2 separate regions of the Homo sapiens genome follow, and region 1 is linked to region 2. Evidence: promoter capture Hi-C in 16 types of primary human blood cells and fetal thymus (Javierre and others, 2016). All regions are on one chromosome and are shown on one strand. The core of a region is centred on a gene start or on the middle of the fragment in contact, and the rest is flanking DNA. Distances in the headings are between cores, read along the strand shown.

Region 1 (5,346 bases), core at 1,556-4,055, 1.3 Mb after region 2:
CTGGTCTTCTCTAATTTCTGTTCCATGCAAATTTTTCCTGGTCCCAGGGAATCATTAGCTAGGTAAAGATAAAATACCCCTTAGGAACAGTATCAGCTAGAACCCACATTATTCAACGAGAATGTTTGCCTGCTATATTAACCAGCACCACGTGGGAAATTCAAGCACTGTATAGAACACAGTGGGTTACAGGTTAAGCCCATCATGATGAGCTGATCTTAGTCTGCTTAAAGACCTGGAATGGAAGAAGGGGACCAGGAGGAAAAGGTGAGAATGAGGCAACAAGACTATTCTGTGTGACACATTCAAATGCATGCCAATAAATAAGTGTTAAGATAATAAAAATTAAGTGCTAAGGGCACTAAAAAGCCAAAAGATCACCTTTTGCCAGGGGAATTTGAAGGGGCTTTGTACAGGAATCCGTACTCTGAGGACTGTAGAGGTGAGTATTTGAAGATGAAGAGCCTGGGAATTCCATATTAGGAAAGGAAGCTAACTAGGGCAAGAGGTTAAGGAGAAAAAGCTGAATTGCTAGGTAGGGGGTAGATTACAAAGATTTCCCAGGGTAAGGAGCCAAATGCCCATGGGAAATCCATGCAGTAAAATAATGATTCCTAGGGGAAGCTTCTAAGCATATTAAAGTTTTCAATATTTATTTATTTTGTGTTGAGAGGGTCAAGGAATTCATGCCAGACTGTTTCAGGAGAGGGAGTTAAGAAGGGACAACAACAGGGAGAGGGCTATTATTTTCCCTTCTTCCCAAACACCAGGGGCACACTACTGACACATTTTGATTTTAAGATAAAATTCTTATGGGCAGATAAGATTTTAAGTGCTTCAAAGTGTTTCAGTTGGAGGCGCTTGCTTAGGCATCCCAAGGGAAGAACTGAGATTACATTTCTCCCCCAAACTAGGGGTGTTTGATTCAGTAGCAGCGCAGGCTGTTATTCCCAAAGTACCACTAATGATGCAATCATCAGTCCATCCACACATCGCCTACCTATCATCCATTCCATAAGCCAACATTTTTGAATGCTCACCATGTGTCAGGTCCCATACAGTGTTTCTGAGTTGCAACAATGAGTAAAACTGTCCTTACTAGTGTATGTCAGTGAGTTGGGAATGGGGGAGAAAGATGAAACAAAAATAGTAACTTTAATTTTTATAGCTGAGAGATGAATATTTGAGGGCTCCTTATATGATTTCTTCAGCTTTTTGTATGTTTAATAATTTCCCTAATAAAGTTAGATAATAAAAAAAACCCTTTCGGCCGGGCGCGGTGGCTCACGCCTGTAATCCCAGCACTTTGGGAGGCCGAGGTGGGCGGATTGCGAGGTCAGGAGATCGAGACCATCCTAGCTAACACTGTGAAACCCCGTCTCTACTAAAAAAAAGAAATACAAAAAAAATTAGCCGGGCGTGGTGGCGGGCGCCTGTAGCCCCAGCTACGCGGGAGGCTGAGGCAGGAGAATGGCGTGAACCCAGGAGGCGGAGCTTGCAGTGAGCCGAGATCTCGCCACTGCACTCCAGCCTGGGCGACAGAGCGAGGCTCTGTCTCAAAAAACAACCAACCAACCAAACAAAGAAAACAACAACAACAAAAAACTGTCCTTTCTTTCAAACAAGGGAGCTACATTTGATAGATGCCTGTATCACAAGGGCAAGTCCAGCCATGAAATTAATCCCAGGATATTAGTGGAAGAGAAGACCCTGGGGCAAGATGGGGAAGGTGGTCAGGAAATGCCCTCCAGTGAAGTTAGGTAAATGCTCTCTAGAAGTAATTGTTCAGATTAAGGAAGCCAAAAGCTAAACACCTGACTCAGCCTCAAACTGGGTTTGGAGGTGCTCACAGGTCAGGATCAGGAGTGAGGAACTAGCCTCTACCACATTACCTTCACTTTATTTATCTCCTTCTTCCCCCTTTGCTTAAATGTCAACGAACATCAAAGTTGATGTTCAGATTCAACCAGCATTTCCAGAGCACCTACTATGTATCAAAGGCTTCCGGTTAGAATCTGCCTTTACCACCTTACAGAGAGGGAAGGCCGAGAATGCCTCAAGCCGTGGAGAACGTGAGTCCATCAGGCAAGGACAGGTTAGGAACCCAGTCCCTCCAAGTCCAAGTCAGGGAAAACAGGTCAGAAACTTAGAATCAGTCGTGGGTTCAAATTCCGACTCGTTTCGTGGCTTTCGGCAAGTGAGTGGTCCTCTCTGAGCTGGCTCAATTTCTCCATCCATAAAAAGGGTACAGTAAGACCGTGGAAGGTTGTAAGGACCAGAGATTCTGACTATCAAGATCCTGGCACGTAGCGAAGGCTCCATAAATGGCAGCCATCATTCTTGGCCAAGTGCGGGCGCATTCTCCCGGGCACGCCTCCCGCGGGGTCCCTCAGGACAGGCCGAGCCCGCCTCCGCGGCTCCGGTCTCGCAGAGCTCGCGCCAGGTGGCCCAGCATCTTGGTGCCCGCGCCCCGAAGCGAGGAGCGAGGGCGGGTTGGATGACCAAGGTCTGCCCTGGAGGATCACCCCCCCCGCCCCTTCCACGCTCCCGGCGCAGGTGAGGTTTTCGGCCCAGGCCACGGGGACCGCGACCTCTGGGGAGGTCGAGGCGGAGGGTGCAGCGGGGGGCTTGGAGCAGGGCTCCAGAGGGCGCTCCCTCCCTCGCCCAGGTTCACCCCAGGGCCAGCCTCGGCGCCGGGGCCCGCGGGCTGCGCGCTCTGCGGCTGCGAAAACCCGGAGAGGCGGATTGGAGCGCGCTCACCGCGCTCTCAGCCAACTCCTCCGCGGTCCGGCCGCCGAGCTGGGCATGCTCAGTGCGGACGCCGCGCCGCCGTCCGCCAACTCGGAAGCTCGCGCTCCCGGGCCGTGGGGGCGAGAACGCCGGCGGCGAGCCGGCGTCGCTCGCCGCCCCCAGACAGTGGCAAACTTCGCGGCGTTCCCGGAGCTCGTCCGGGCGAGGCAGATACCGCACAAATAAAATCAAATCCAAGTCCCCCATCCCAACCCGAATGATGGAGGCTGCGGCGGCCGGAGTGACCCCGCCGCCGCCAGCCCCAGCCCGCTAGCCGCGGACCAACAGGTAAAGTGTTGGGGGTTGGGGGCGGAAGGGAAGAGGAGCTGGGGCCGTGGGGAGGCGGCGGGCTGGAGGAGCCCGAGACGCCTGCGGGCTGGCTGCCCCCGTCGGCGCTCACAGCCATCGCTCCTCACCCCCTTCCCCAGCCCCTGGAGGGACTGTAAAGGGTTAAGTCGGCCCCACGCCACCGTGAGCACGGCCCCCTCCAGCCGCCGCGACCGCCAGCAGCGCGCCTCGGCGCCTGCCCGGAGCCGCCGAGGGGACCGTAGCTGCGGATGCGCCACTGGAACCTGGCGGGCGTCTAGGAGGCACCGGCCGCTTCCCACCGGCCGCATCCCTGCGTCTCGCGCCCCCTCCAGACCTGCCTCTGCCTGCACTGGCCCGGTCCGTGTCCAGGTGGCGGGGTCTGCGGGGCGCGTGGCGGCGGGGGAAGGGTCCCTGCCGGGGAAGAGAGGCGGGGGCGGTCCGCTCCACAGCTTCTTCCCGGGAGGGGAGGGCCACCCTCGCCTTGGGCGAGCACTTCAGCCACCAGCCTAGGCGCCAAGAAAAGTTTTTTTTTTTTTTTTTCCAGTGCCCCACCCCCACCCCCATCCTGCGCCCAGCTGGGGTGGGTTTGGGTCCATTGGTGAAAAAAGTCACACGTTCCCATCAGCTGCTCCTCCCCCTGGAGACAAGGTAGGGGGGAGCAGAGGAGGCAGGCGCCGCGGAGGACCCTGGCCGACCTCTAGTCCCTCCGCCGCCGCCACCGGAGCGGTGCGTCCCGGGGCTCGAGCGCAGCCGAGTACCCGCCGAAGGCTGTCCCCATCAGTGCGTGTCTGCTGCCGGGCAGCGGCAGCATCCAACCTGCTTTATTCCTCCTGCCTGCAGCGCCACAGCGAGCGAGCGAGCGAGGAGGGGGAGAGAGGGAGTCTGTCTGCAAAGTGCTGCTCCCTGGTGCTCAGAGGCGGCTGCTCCAGCTCCAACTCTCATTCATTTCGCCGGTTAACATGAGAGATCATGGCCGCCTTCGGGCTTCTCAGCTATGAGCAGAGACCGCTGAAGCGCCCCCGGCTCGGGCCGCCCGACGTCTACCCACAGGACCCCAAGCAGAAGGAGGTAAGGGCGCCGGCGGCCTCCCCGGCAACCGGGGCCGCGCTCTGCAGCACTGACCCGGGGCCAAGTTGGCCCAGCGGGCATCGCCGGCGCTGCGGTGGAAGAGGTCGGGGAGGGGGATTAGAGGCGGGGGCCAGGCTGGGGGTGCTGGGCGACCCCCCGGCGGCGGAGACCGAGCGGCTGTCAGTCCCCGCGCTCCACTGGGGCGCTCGCTTTCCATGTGCCGGTCGCTTTCCCGTTGCCGGGCCTTGCACGGCGCCGCCGGGCGCTTCTCGGGCTTCTTCCCTGCCGAAACCTTGCTCGCTCTCACCCGTTTCTGCCTGCTTTATTTTTCTTCTTGCCGCTTCGGTAAATCGTCGTAAACTTTTTGAAAAATGTTGGAATGCAGTGCATCCTACACTGAGGTCTTGCGTTTTGCTTTTGCTGGCCAGGGACGAAGGTGAGGGGGAAGCTTTTCAAATTTTCCAGTTTGGAATGGAAGTCGTTTTTATCGAAGTGATAAATATTTAGCTCTCTGAATATACCTCTGTAACCCTTCTGCCCTTTAAAAATTAAAATTAAGGAGAAACACTGATTTTCGTCTCTAGAGGCAATGGGCTTAATTGCTAGAGGCTGTTTTGTATACGTAAAAGCAGGCGAGTTACCTTGGGAGGGAATAGTTCCCAGGATTGCTTATTTCTTTGAATGAGATTAATTGGAGACACCTTGACTCTTGCACCAGCTACATTAGCTTCAATGGCTAGGGTAACCATGGCATTTTGTAGCTGTGTATCTGTTTGTCAGGAGTTAACAAGTAATTATGTAACAAGTCTCTAGTTATAATGATCACCTTTGGCTACACCATTTGCCCAGGGACTTGCCTTTTTTTTGTTTTTTTTTTGATCACCTGCTACCCAGCAGTGCTTTCTGAGTTTGCCAGCTGCAGTCCACCCATCTTCTGTTCAGCTAAACACGAACTGACCATATTTCAAAACTTACCTTTCTGAGAATCTAAAAACCCTCCATTAAAAGTTTGTGGGCCCACTGATAGCACAGAAAGGGCCTTGTAAACCAGGCAAGGAGGGGTCCTTAAGACTTTCCTTTTGATAAGTGTATCTTTCATTAGGAGAGTAAGTGCTTGTTCTGGCTAAACTGTCTTGCTTATAAAGTGTCTGAGAAGTAAGGAACAGCAACTCCTTTTAG
Region 2 (5,527 bases), core at 1,957-4,456:
TAGATCATTTTTAAGGCATTGAACATTAAGCACACCTCTTTTTGCCTGATCTTTCTCAACTCCTTGAAAATAAATTGGATAAACTTTGTTGAAAAACCCTCTGACTGATATGTATCGCCTTAGGTTCTGAACTTTTCACTTTTTATCTTACTTAATGAACCCATTCATTAATTTGGAACTTGGCAAAGAAATTAGAATCTTTTAGAATCTTTGGCTAAAAGTTCCCTGATGCTATTTGTAGAAATTCTGTTTGGTACTTTTCAAAATTGCTTATTTCATACACATATAAATTCTTTATGGATCTTATTCTTTCTTTTAATAGTAATAATTTTATTTTGTTTTCAAAATGAAAATACCTTTTTTCTGATTCTAAAATTACTTTTTTTCTGTTTCTAAATATGATAATATATAGAATTGTTTAAGGTTTCTGATTAATCTCTGTGCTTAAGGAGACAGCCTGCATTCTTTCTGGTATTTAGGGAGAACTATTTCTAAGCCATTTCAGACAATTACATAATTGGGTATCTGTCTTTTTTTGTTGTTGTTGCCTTACAATATTTTGGAAGCAGGAGATTCTACAATTACTTTTACGTGCTATCTGTTTGTACTTTTTAGGAAGGTTTAAAAAAAAAACCTGTTAGATACAACACCCTAAAAGCACATTTTGATTTTTAAAAAGATAATTAGTGGTATATTAGTATCACGTGCCTTATTAACCCTTCATGTTCTTGAAAATTGTAATTATGATATCTGTCAATCTTACTGTCTAATCTGCTTTAGAAAGATTAATACATTTTTCCAATATATTTTTTTCCAATTTACCTTTTTCAGCACAGGTTGGGAGAGTAAATGTTTTTGCAGAGTGTAGCCTAAATGCAGTACAAATGACACATTACCTTGTTCATAGTTGAGAGAACTATACCTATTGTTATCTGAAGAGCAGGTTGAAACCAGAAGTAAAATATTCTGTACTCAAGGTGCCTTTAAGGAATAAGCAAAGCTCTTTGTCTGAGCGTGGTGACTCATGCCTGTAATCCTAGCACTTTGGGAGACCGAGGCAAGAAGATCCTTTGAGGCCAGGAGTTTGAGACCTGCCTGGGCAACATAGCCAGACTGTAAGGCTAAAAAAAATAAAAAAATTAGCCAGGCCTGGTGGCACATGCCTGTAATCCTAGCTACTCCAGAGGTTGAGGTGGGAGGATTACTTGAGCCCAGGAGTTCTGGACTGCAGTGAGACATGATCTCACCACTGCACTCCAGCCTGGGCAACAGAGTGAGACCTTGTCTCTAAAATAAATAAAAATAAAACAACAAAACCCAAAGCTCCTCTCTGTGGACTTAATTTTTTTTTTTTTTTTTGGAGATGGAATCTTGCTCTGTTGCCTATGCCCGAGTGCAGTGGTGGGATCTCAGCTCACTGTAACCTCTGCCTCCCATGTTCAAGCGATTCTCCTGCCTCAGCTTCCCAAGTAGCTGGGATTACAGGTGTGCACCACAATGCCCGGCTAATTTTGTATTTTTAGTAGAGACGAGGTTTCACCATGTTGGCCAGTGTGGTCTTGAACTCCTGACCTCAAGTGATCCGCCTGACTTGGCCTCCCAAAGTGCTGGGATTACAGGCATGAGCCACCGCACCCGGCCTAAAAAAATTTATTTTGATGTTATGCAAGAAATCTGATTTAATATACCAATTTGGGATAATTTAATGAAAAAAATGCTTATAGAGATATTATAAATGTGTTTATACTAATTAGTCTTCTTAGTAATATTCCCAATGCTGACTTTTATTTATGACTTTCTTAAAGGCAGAATTGTGATTTAAGTATTGAATGTCTTTGCAACCAATGAAAAGTTAAGACTACATAGAATACTCATAGGATACACAGAAGAGGAAAGTACCTTTGATAGCTTTTATTTAATTTTTTAAAATTTGATCTTAAATTTCTTGTATTTGAATTTTATTTGAGTAGGTAATATTTGCAAGGTTCAAAATTCAAAAGGCACAAAAGGATACACAATAAGGAAAGAGTCTTTTCCCCATTGCTGTGTCCCACCTACTCAGGGCTCTCCAAGCAATCAAAGTGACAAGTTACATCCAATGGTATTCTACTAATACTCTGTGTGATAGCCTCCTCGCCACCATTTTTAAAAGATGATGTTGAAGGAGTTGAAGCCTGTAAAGGCCTTATTAAGGGTGCCTTATTATTTGAAGCAGAAGTAGTGCCTGATTCTATGTCTCCTGACATTTCTTTCAGGACTCTGTAATATTTGCCTAAGTCACACTGCTTTTGTAAGGTGGCGAGTTGGCAATGATTAATCAATGTGGATGGTACAATCCGGTAATTTAAGTTTCGACTGGTTTAAGATTGAGACAACCAGAAAGGAAGGCTTATCAGAAGGGCGGCAGGGGAGGAGATTTTTGGTTCATCAAAAGGAGGCAAGGGTTTTAAAAGGCTGACCTAGGGCCTGAATCACATGGTTTGACTTTTGCTAAGCCCCGGGGATGGCGCGTGTCAGGCCCAGAGTGCTGATGCCAGCGTGGATCCGAGCCAGGCCTCAGGGGACTGGCGTTCAGACCTCGGGCCGCTCGCATCTCTAACAATTTGAGCCCTACTTTAAGGTGTGGCCACGGTCCCCACCCACTCTGATCTCAGACTGGGCACGGTACGGAAGGCGGGCGGATGAGGCCTCGCCCTCGCCTCTTTAGTAGGTCGGGTGAGTGTAGTGTGCAGGGAAGAGACGCGTCAGCGCCAGGGCCAGGCCCGCCCGGGGGCAGCCCGGCAGCCGAATCTTGGGCTACTCTGTCCCAACAGCCGGAGCAGATCAGACCGACCGGCCCTGCCCGCTCGGTCCCGCGCCCTCCAGACCCTACGGTCTCCGTTTCTAGGGGCACATGGTTAGCGGCAGGCGCCCACAGCCAATCCACTTTGCCAGCCTGCCCCTTCCTCTGCCAAGAGCAGCTTCTTCAGCCGCGCTCCAGTTCCGCAGACGCCTGCCCCACCCTGCTCTTCCCTTCCAGGGAAGACGGATCACGCGGCCAAGAACGAGACTCGCAAACTGGGCATTTCTCCGAGCCGGGCTAGAGCAAGTAGCGAGACTCCGCGTGAGAGTGGGAAAGAGCCTTAACAGGCAACCATGTTGCCCAGTGGGTTTTCTGTGCCTTTGGGTGCGGACCAATGAGGCGCGTGGGGCGGGACTTCCGCTTCGCCTAGGTGTTGTCGTCCCTGCTAGTACTCCGGGCTGTGGGGGTCGGTGCGGATATTCAGTCATGAAATCAGGGTAGGGACTTCTCCCGCAGCGACGCGGCTGGCAAGACTGTTTGTGTTGCGGGGGCCGGACTTCAAGGTAAGACCCTGTCCGGCTTCGCGGCAGCCGGGCAGCTCGTTATCGAGCGGCCCAGAGAACATACCCCGCTTGTTGGCCCTCGAGCTCGGAGTCGGCCCTGCTGCTGAGGTCTTTGCTGCTCCTCTAGAGCTGGGTGAGAAGTCAATTAGGCTTTTTGCAAAAGGAATAAAATAGCCTTGCCCTCGGGGGACCGAGTCTCCCCTGCACTCTCATTCCGCGAGTTTGTGTGTGTCCAAAGTTGAGTTACCGGTTTTGCTTCTCTCATTCCCTTCTTGAGGCTGCAAGAGCCTGCCTGGAAAACATGTTTGGAAGGCTTTTCTTGGTCAAGTACCTGCCGCAACGTCCTCGGGCACATCGCTTGACTTTAGTTGAGGGGGCTGTTTTGTCTCTGAATAGAAGGAGGGCAGTCACTTCCTCTCTTTTACCCCCACCCCCTTTTTCTTTCCCTGGAAGCTCAGATTGCAGGTTTGGGACTTAACCCCTGCTAGGGCCAGATACTACGGTCAGTCAGCAGCTCTGCCTGTATGCTTGACTTGACTTGACTTGCACTTATTAAATAACTTTGTCCCAGAGAGAAAGAGAGAGTGGGCAGACATCGAAGCCAAACAGCAGTATCCCGGAAGCACTCATGCAACTTTGGTGGCGGCCACTCAGTTTTCTCTGCCAGTGTCTGGTAAATTCCTCTATTTTGTCCTAATCTGACAATAGTAAATAGTAAATTTCCAAAACTGTCGTTTCATCATCAGTTTCAGCACCGTGGGCAGCTGCTCGGGTCCTCTCTTGTTGCCCCAAACCTGCCCGGCTATTACTGTTCGTCAGTGATGCAGCAGAAACAGTGAAAACTGATGCATTCCTTTCAACAATGATGTGTTTGTTCTCCAAGGAGAACATCTGCAGTTTTTGATACAATATAAATAAGTAAGGTGGCTGTGCCTCCAAAGAGTTCTTCTGGAGAAACAGATCAATTCAAGATTTAAGGTAGGGCTTTCAAGAGTTTATGCTATTTAAGCACAGTTTTTTAATGGGTGGACATTAGCTCCATCTCGAAGTAACAAAACTGGACAGTGATAGCAATTAAAAAGAACTTTAAACAGGAGGTAAGAAGTGTAGTGCAGTGCTGTAGTGCAGGAAGTGTAGTGCAGTGCTGTAGTGCAGGGCCCATAAGGATTCATTAATAGATTTTAGAATCAATTTAGTACATTGACATAAGCTTTATAAAGAAAGAAAAAATACCAGAGGACATTGTATGGAATAAAAGTAAATATTATGGCAAGAAGCTTTTGTTTCAGTTTTTAACAGTATGTGTGTGTCAAGAGGAAGATGGAAATGTAAAGTGTATTATGGATTATGGCAAAAACAAATGTTTCAAAATACTAAATTCCAAATTTGGGAGTCAAGCTGGGTTCAGCTCTGCCATTTACTAATTCTGTGACATTTTCCGTAAATAAGAAATGAGTTGTTATGAGGATTAAATGAAACAAAATTTGTCTATTACATAATTTTTTTTTGTTTTGTTGGAAACTGTTGGAGAGAGGCACAGTTATTTTTCTCTATGTAGGGAATGAGAACTGTTTTATTAGTTTTTTTTTTTTTAACCTCTGCCTTTGTTTGAAGCTAGGCAGCTTGACATCTTGTCTCTATGTGTAATGCAAATCATAGACAGAATCTTGGTTTGAGAGGTATAATACTGAAGGGTTTGGGATAAGTTCTCATCTATGCTTGTATAAAGCTAATTTTCTCAATAATTTTGGAGGGGCATAAATTGTTGCTAGCATTCAGCTTTCTTCCCTTGATATTTTTCTGCATTCCAGAATAACGTAGATTTATCAGAACTTTTACAGGCACTAACTTTAGCTAAGTGAGGGTAGGCCTGAGGGTATGACTAAAGGGATAGATTTATGTCTTTGAGTTAAGTTGGCTAGGAAGGCATTTTATGCCTTATAGTTCTTGCCATAAGAGATGTATGAAATGAAATAGTTTGGTCAACTATCATGGTATGTTTTGCTTACTTCATGTAGGTGTGACCTAGAAATGGTTGGCATTTAAATAACAATATTTTTAAATCTGGGAATTGATGTTTAGCAGGAGGCAAATGAGTTTCAGTCAAAACAGTGTTTTGCACCATTTGTCATGTTTACCATATGGCATTGCATATGATAGTTTCACATGACATAAAAAGGGG

Evidence for each region. Contacts are between HindIII fragments. The CHiCAGO score rates a contact against its expected background, and 5 or more counts as called.
Region 1: the fragment with the promoter of MED12L here is called in contact with the fragment with the promoter of RNF13 in region 2 in 1 of 17 cell types (fetal thymus); the score reaches 5.6 in fetal thymus.

What each region holds. Positions count from the first base shown.
Region 1 is chr3:151,082,859-151,088,204 of GRCh38, forward strand. It overlaps MED12L (mediator complex subunit 12L), which reads left to right and starts at 2,806. Exons shown (of 45, transcript NM_001393769.1): 1 at 2,806-3,078; 2 at 3,940-4,167. The coding sequence starts at 4,069. RefSeq lists silencers at 2,458-2,827, 3,264-3,558. The HindIII fragment of the contact is 3,991 bases long and covers 623-4,613 here.
Region 2 is chr3:149,810,009-149,815,535 of GRCh38, forward strand. It overlaps RNF13 (ring finger protein 13), which reads left to right and starts at 3,207. Exons shown (of 10, transcript NM_183381.3): 1 at 3,207-3,345. RefSeq lists enhancers at 2,564-3,075, 2,941-3,050 and a silencer at 2,581-2,730. The HindIII fragment of the contact is 6,716 bases long and covers 1-4,553 here.